Linked DNA regions of Homo sapiens: region 1 is linked to region 2. Evidence: promoter capture Hi-C in human tissues and cell types (Jung and others, 2019). All regions are on one chromosome and are shown on one strand. The core of a region is centred on a gene start or on the middle of the fragment in contact, and the rest is flanking DNA. Distances in the headings are between cores, read along the strand shown.

Region 1 (3,981 bases), core at 1,346-3,845, 150 kb after region 2:
CAGAAGAACCAGACATCTGGTTTGCATGAGAAACCTCCCCAGAGTCGACATGTTCCCAAACAAGCCCAGCTGAAGAGGAGGAAAAGGATGCAGGTGAGGAGAGGCAGAATTTGTTGATTTGGGGTGACCGGTGCATAAAAGTCTTGCTCTCCATCTTGTCCTGCTACCTTCTACTGGCCGAACCCTTCACTGCTTGTGGCTCAACTCTCGCTAGCTCCTCCAGGGAGCCCACCGCCTGGTGTGGGCCACCACCGGCTCCTGCAGGCCAGCTGCCCCCACCCCCAGCCTGGGCCCCGGGGGCCAGAAGGCACGCCCACCTGAAACACCTTGTTCTGCAGCTTGATCTTCCGGTACTTCTCCTCCTCGGGGTGCAGGTGGATGTTGTCCAGGTACCTGGGGTAGGTGGAGAAGGTGAGTGGGGCACAGCCCAGGCTGCCCACCCGGCCCCTCTGTGCCTCCTGCTCCAGGTAACAGCAGCTCAGCCACACTTGGCCTCTAGTCAGAGGGAAGAAGCGGCCCAGTGACGCGAGGGCAGCAGACCATCTCCGGGTGGAAGGCACACCTCGGACACCCCATGGAGCCCACCCCTGGTGCCAGCAGGAGCCCCACGGAACCCCTCACCGTCCCACCAGCCCTGGAAGGGCACAATTAACCACAGCGGTGGGGAAGCCACAGTGCCGGAAGAGTGGAGAGCCAGAGCTGAAGGGCCGCAGTGCCAGCAGGGGGCTCCTGCGGGGTGCTCCCTCGGCGTTGGCGGGCAGCGTGGACCTCCAGGCCTGCCCCCGATCCTGAGACCCGGGGAGTGGGGTGGGACCCTGCCTCCTCCACATGTTCCCCAAGGAAGCCAGGGTGGGAAACCCCTGATTCCTTCAACACCTTCATTTTGCACACGGGTAAACTGAGGCCCAAGGAGGCCCAGCCCTTTGCCTGAGGCCTCTGGGTGGAGCTGCCTCACTCTCGGCCTATGCTCCTTCCCAACCCACCTCAGCAGGTAATGAGGGGGCCAGAGGGGGTGACAGCCCCAGTGGGAGGGGTGCTGGGATGAGCTGGAGGGGCCAGGCAGGGCAAAGGGGCCACACGCTCACTTGGCAATGGTGTCCACACCCAGCTTCACCCGGTCCTGGTCTTTGTTGAACGTGTAGATCTTCATGATGGAGGCGGCCACTGGGTCGGTGGAGAAGTGCTGGGAGGAGGGAAGCAGGGAAAGCCACTCACTGAGAGCCCGGGCCGCACGGCCCTCCGCTGCCCAGGTAACAGGGGCAGGAAAAGGAAGGCAGAACAGCGGCTTGGAGCGGCCCCAGCTGTGCGCTCATCACAGAAAGGAAAAGAGAGACCCTCCAAGACCGCAGCCCTGCCCACGCCCCAGGGCAGAGGCGACGCAGCCAAGACCCAGCAGAACTCAAGTCTCCCCTTCCGCCTTCTCAAGGCTAGATCCATGGGACTTGGAAGCCAGTGTGACGCGACAGAACTGTGCCTCACACTCTGGCTTTAGAACTCGACCTCAGTGCTGAGATCCATCAAGGCCACCGCCACTTACAGAACCTCCCGCCACCATGGACGCCCCATCCCTCCTGCTCTCGCAGCCCCATGATGGACGTTCTGGAACCACTCCCGGGCCTCATGTTTACAAAGAGACCGAGAGGCCCATCGTCCAGGGTCACAGGGATGGCAGGTGGCAGAGAGGACACAAATGAGTCTGCAACCCTCAATGTCTGAAACTCAATAGCTGGAAGACGGATACCCCCAGCCCCTGCCCCTCCCCGAGGTCCCACCTATCCACCTATGTTACCGGGGGAGGGGAGAAGTCATAGCTGGAACTCTGGGGGTTTCCCAGAACCAGCCCTGCTGACTGCGAACAGCGTCCCAGCATGGAGAGGCTGAGAACAGTACGTACCCTAAGACCTGGAAAAGATTGGGGCACAAATCCACGCTCGGCACAGCCATCACACACGGCCACACCCAGAGAGCCACCCATGGCCTGGGAAGCAGGGCTGCCACCCGCACCTCCCTGGGCTGCCCAGACGAGGGCGGGTGAACAGAAGGGCAGCCCAGGGCCATGTGTCAGGATTCGGGCCACCTGCCCAGGCAGCCCAGAGCTCCACCCACCACCCCCCACCCTCAACTGCACAGCAGGGTCCCTCAGCAGCCCCCTGCGTCACACGGACCAATGACCTACACACTGAGCCGGGGCTCATGCCAACTGAAAATTGGGACCCGGCCCAGTCTGCCGGTTTAGTTGCTGAGATGATGTGGGGAGCGGGACAGAGCACGTGGATGCAGAGAGGCAGAGCTGCCAGATGGGCATGTCCCCAAGACAACAGCTTCCTTGGGATCAGAGCGCCCGGGACAGCACACCAGCCAAGGGAAGCGTGTCAGCTCCAAAAGCGGGCCTCGGGCGTTTTGGGCGACTGGCTGCCAGGCTTAGGTCAGGAGCTGGGTACATGCACAGACAAGGGACGAAGGAACAGCAGCCAGGAAGGGGTCCAAATCCATACAGGAATGTACTTTGTGAGAAAGGTGGGATTTCACAGCTGTAAGCAAAAGACAGGTGCTCTCGACAGGTGGGGCTGAGAAGAAAGCTGAGCCAAGATCTAAAAAAAAAATTACATCAGCTCCATCCCACCATGTTACATAATAACATGCTCCAGCTGGATCAAAGCTTCAACCATGGAAACAAGCAAGCAGTCAAGGAGAAGCCAGAAGAAAAGCTCTGGAGGCCGGGCACGGTGGCTCATGCCTGGAATCCCAGCACTTTGGGAGGCCGAGGCGGTCGGATCACGAGATTAGGAGAGCGAGACCATCCCGGCCAACATGGTGAAACCTCATCTCTAAAATACAAAAGTTAGCCCGGGTGTGGTGGCGTGCACCTGTAGTCCCAGCTACTTGGGAGGCTGAGGCAGGTGAATTGCTTGAACCCGGGAAGCAGAGGTTGCAGTGAGCTGAGATTGCACCACTGCACTCCAGCCTGGTGACAGCAAGACTCTGTCTCAAAAAAAAAAAAAAAAAAAGCACTGGAGAGGCCACAAAAGAATTCTCTCAGCATGGAAATGGGGAAGGCATTTCTAAGAATGACCCCAAACCCAAAAGCCATGAACTAAAACTGACACATTTAATTATACAGAGATCAAAAAATCCTACACAGCAAAGTGACCATAAGCAGAGCCAACATAGAAGCAACTAGAGGGAAACATGTGCAACTCATATCATAGGCAAAAGCCTAAATTGCCTAATATGTAAAGAGTGCTGCCGGGCACGGTGGCTCCCGCCTGTAATCCCAGCACTTTGGGAGGCCGAGGCGGGCGGATCACGAGGTCAGGAGATCGAGACCATCCTGGCTAACATGGTGAAACCCCGTCTCTACTAAAAATACAAAGAATCAGCTGGGCGTGGTGGCGGTTCGCCTGTGGTCCCAGCTACTCGGGAGGCTGAGGCAGGAGAATGGTGTGAACCTCGTAGGCGGAGCTTGCAGTGAGCAGAGATGGCGCCACTGCACTCCAGCCTGGGCGACAGAGCGAGACTCTGTCTCAAAAAAAAAAAAAAAAAAAAAAAAAAAAGAGTGCCTACAAATCACTAATAAAAAGACAAACTATCTACTAAATAATGTAGAAAGGACGCATTCTCATATGAAACATGGCCAATCCAAAATAAGGAAAGTGCAAATTAACTCTATCCTGAGATGTTATTTTCACCTACCAACAGGCGTAAAGATCAAAGTTTGGTGATTTACAGTATGGTGAGAGGATGGGGACACGGGTGCTTTTGCACACACTGCTGGAGTGGGTGTGAGTCTGGAGAGTCTATGGAACTATTACTATTTTGTTTTGTTTTGTTTTTAAGATGAAGTTTCGCTCTTGTCACCCAGTGTCCACGCTGGAGCTCAATGGCGTGATCTGGGCTCACTGCAACCTCCACCTCCCAGGTTCAAGCGATTCTCCTGCCTCAGTCTCCTGAGTAGCTGGGATTACAGGCGCCTGTCACCAC
Region 2 (4,177 bases), core at 1,061-3,560:
GGTGAAACCCTGTCTCTACTTAAACTACAAAAATTAGCTGGGCATGGTGGCGGGTGCCTGTAATCCCAGCTACTTGGGAGGCTGAGGCAGGAGAATCGCTTGAACCCGGGAGGTGGAGGTTGCAGTGACCTGAGATCGTGCCACTGCACTCCAGCCTGGGTGACAGAGCGAGGCTCTGTCTCAAACAAAACAAAACAAGGCCGGGTGCAGTGGCTCACGCCTATAATCCCAGCACTTTGGGAGGCAGAGGCGGGCGGATCACGAGGTCAGGAGATCAAGACCATCCTGCCCAACATGGTGAAACCCCGTCTCTACTAAAAATACAAAAATTAGCTGGGTGTGGTGGCATGTACCCGTAGTCCCAGCTACTCGGGAGGCTGAGGCGGGAGAATCACTTGAACCCGGGAGGCGGAGGTTGCAGTGAGCTGAGATCGCGCCACTGCACTCCAGCCTGGCGACAGAGCGAGACTGTGTCTCAAAATAAAAAACAAAACAAAACATTCCTGGGCTCATGTGATCCTCCCACCTCAGCCTCCCAAATTACTGGTGTTACAAGTACATGCCACTGTGCTCAGCCTGACCAGGGATCTTAATGGAAAGGTATAACCAGTGTGAGAAGGAAGGTATTGGGGGGTAAGAGCATTCCAGGCAGTGCACAGCCCATGCAAAGGCCCTGGGGCAGGACTGTGCCTGGCGTGTTGGAGGAACAGCGAGGAGGCCCGTGTGGCTGGAGCAGAGTGAGGACAGGGAGAGAGGGAGGAAGGGTTGGGCAGGGCCTGTGAGCCTTGGGGTGGTGTGGGGAGGTGAAGGAAGTTAAGCAGTTTATGTTTTAATGTAAGTGTGATGGAAAATCAGAAAGCAGGGAAGAAATAGTCCAATTGAAGTTTTTGTTTTTGTTTTTGTTTTTGTTTTGAGATGGGGTCTCACTCTGTTGCCCAGGTGGGAGTGCAGTGGTGTGATCTCGGCTCATTGCAACCTCTGCCTCCCAGGTTCAAGTGATTCTTGTGGCTCAGCCTCTTGAGTAGCTGGGACTACAGGCACTCGCTACCACGCCCAGCTAATTTTTGTATTTTTGGTAGAGATGGGGTTTCACCAACATGGCCAGGCTGGTCTGGAACTCCTGACCTCAAGTGATCCACCTGCCTCAGTCTCCAATTTAAGTTTTAATAAAAAGACCTTGGTTGGGTGTGGTGGCTCATGCCTGTTATCCCAGCCCTTTGGGTGGCCAAGACTGGGTGATTGCTTGAGGCCAGGAGTTCAAGACCAGCCTGGGCAACATAGTGAGACCCATCTCTAAAAAACAAAAATGACTGGGCACGGTGGCTCACGCCTGTAATCCCAGCACTTTGGGAGGCCAAGGTGGGTGGATCATGAGGTCAGGAGTTCGAGACCCACCTGGCCGAGATGGCGAAACCCCGTCTCTACTAAAAATACAAAAAAAATTAGCCAGGCGCAGTGGCGCGCGCCTGCAGTCCCAGCTACTCGGGAGCCTGAGGCAGGAGAATCTCTTGAACCTGGGAGGCAGAGGTTGCAGTCAACCGAGATCGCGTCACTGCACTCTAGCCTGGGTGACAGAGCAAGACTCCTTCTCAAAACAAAACAAAACAAACAAACAAAAAAACACAAATGAACAACAAAAAAGTGCAAGCGGCTGGAATCAGAGGAGAGGGAAAGAGGAATGGAGGTTTTCGCCCCAGGAAATGTGTGAAGGGCAGCAGCCTTTGTCCTTAATTGGAAACACAGAGGGAGCTGCTGCCGGAGTAGAAAGTCTGCTTTTAGCTGTGAGAAGTCTGACGTGTCTGTTAGACCCCCGGAGAAGTTGAGGTTATGTGAAGTTCCTGGCATTTGAGATGCAATTGCAGAGGAGGGTAGAGACATGAGATCTGGAGAAGGGTATTAGGCAGCTGGAACAGCAGGTGCAAAGGCTCGAAGGCCAGATCCAGCCTTCCCATTGCGGAAACAGAGAAAGAAAAGTCCCCAGGCTAGAGCAAGAGGGAGGGAGCAAAGGCACTGCGGAGGGTGGAGATGAGAGAGGCCAGGCCAGGCTGGTATGTAGGGCAAGGTTTAGATTGTATCCTAGGGGCCCTCAGAGGATCCTTCCTTAATCCTCCAGCCCCCATCACGTTCTGAGTCTCGGAGGGAGATGGGCCTTATCTGACAGTAGAGAGACTGAAGTTTAGAGGGGCCCTGAGCTGGGGGGCAGGCAGCTGGGGATGACAGCAAGAGTGGGGTTCAGAGGGGAGGGAGGCCCAGATACTCACCCCAGATCTGCACCAGGAGGCCCAGCACCATGCCCGGGGACCCCATTCCTGGCCCATCACCCCCCTCTCCCCCTCCCAGTTGACAGACTTCCTGCCACAATCTCCGCCTCCCGCTGCAGAAGCAGATGCAACACCCAGGGCCAGACAACAGACGTCCGGTGTTCCAGCCTGCTGGGGGCTCCACTTCCTGCCACCTCGTGCCTCAGTTTCCCCAATGCATTTTCTATCTGAAAGGCAGTGTACGGACCAGGCAACATGGCTCATGTCTGTAATCCCAGCACTTTGGGAGGCCGAGGCAGGTGGATCACCTGAGGTCAGGAGTTCGAGACCAGCTTGGCCAACATGATGAAACCCCTACTAATTTCTACTAAAAATACAGAAATTAGCTGGACATGGTGATGGGCGCCTATAATCCCAGCTACTTGGGAGGCTGAGGCAGGAGAATGGCTTAAACCCGGGAGGCGGAGGTTGCAGTGAGCCAAGATCACGCCACTGCACTCCAGCCTGGGCGACAAGAGTGAAACTCCGTCTCAGAAAAAAAGAAAAGAAAGGCAGTGTATGCAAGTGAGTGGGAGGAATCCACCCCTGTGAGCTTTCTGGAAGGCTCTACATAAACACATCTAGGTACAGGAAGACACAGTGCGAGAGCAGGTGGCTCCGTGGGGGAGGGGCAGGCGACATAGGCCTGAGCAGTGAGTTAAATGACAGGGTCCCTGCCTCAATTATTTTGCTCCCAAAATGTCTTTCTTTTGCTGGGCGCTGTAGCTCACACCTGTAATCCCAGCACTTTGTGAGGCTGAGGTGGGAGGATCACTTGAGCCGAGTTTAAGATCAACCTGGGGTAACACAGCGAGATCCAATCTCTATTAAAAAAAAAAAAAAAAAAAAAAAGATACAGGCTGGGCATGGTGGCCCAGGCCTGTAATCCCAGCACTTTGGGAGGCCAAGGCGGGTGGATCACCTGAGGTCAGGAGTTCAAGACCAGCCTAGCCAACATGGCAAAACCCGGTCTCTACTAAAAATACAAAAATTAGCTGGGCCTAGTGGTGGGCGCCTGTAGTCCCAGCTACTCAGTGGGGTTGAGGCAGGAGAATCGCCAGAACTGGGGAGATGGAGATTACAGGGAGCCGAGATCCTGCCACTGCACTCCAGCCTGGGCGACAGAGTGAGACTGTGTCTCAAAAAAAAAAAAAAAGATACAAAACCAACCCAGGGTGATGGTGCATGCCTATAGTCCCAGCCACTCGGGAGGCTGAGGCAGGAGAACCGCTTGAGCCCAGGAGTTGGAGGCTGCAGTAAGCCATGATTGCGCCCCGTTACTCCAGCCTGGGCAACAGAGTGAGTCCGTCTCTAAAAAAAAATAATAATAATAATTTAAAAAATCTTCCTTTGAGGTTCAGAGAAATAGATTTCTGTTGATAACTTTGGGTCCTATTACATGACCTGCTTGGGGGTCCCGTGGAGGAGGTTCATGGGCTCTCGAGTTCCTCCCAGCCCTGCATCCCTCACCCCTGATTCTGTAGTGCATTCTGGGAGGAGGTGGCGAACCCACAGACCTCAATGTCTCAGACCCAACTGCAGAGTGACCTCCTTTCTCACTCGGACCTAGAAGGCCTGCATCGTACACAGCGTTCCCCTCCACCACAGGGAGGTTCTGCGGTGGCTATGCCTGCACCTCCCCTGCAGACACGTACACCCGCCCAGCCTCCCCTACCCACTCCTTCCCCTCCCCAGAACATTCTGAAGCTCCACCCTTCCCCCCACCGTCTGCTGAGGGACCCTGGATAGATTAGCCCCCAGGTCCTTCCAAAGCTGGACCCAGACATTCTTAGCTTCCGCACCTGGGCTGGCACGGAGACTTCTGGAGGAGCTGTTGGAGCCTGGGGCTTTGTGGGGTGTATAGGAGTTCAGTTGTG

What was found. The method cuts DNA at HindIII sites, captures the fragments that hold promoters and counts their contacts. A contact is called where the count stands out against the background at its distance.
Region 1: a contact is called between a fragment that was not itself captured here and the fragment with the promoter of TMIGD2 in region 2, in 1 of the 25 tissues and cell types used here (dorsolateral prefrontal cortex).

Annotation. Positions count from the first base shown.
Region 1 is chr19:4,447,233-4,451,213 of GRCh38, forward strand. UBXN6 (UBX domain protein 6) reads right to left here. Exons shown (of 11, transcript NM_025241.3): 5 at 1,086-1,183; 6 at 318-393. It also overlaps a transcript of CHAF1A not described here. Among named protein-coding and RNA genes, the nearest start is that of MIR4746, 3.2 kb to the left of the region's middle. The HindIII fragment of the contact is 5,827 bases long and covers 1-3,981 here.
Region 2 is chr19:4,300,079-4,304,255 of GRCh38, forward strand. TMIGD2 (transmembrane and immunoglobulin domain containing 2) reads right to left here and starts at 2,311. Exons shown (of 5, transcript NM_001169126.2): 1 at 2,262-2,311. The coding sequence starts at 2,307. RefSeq lists an enhancer at 1,772-2,317. The HindIII fragment of the contact is 29,023 bases long and covers 1-4,177 here.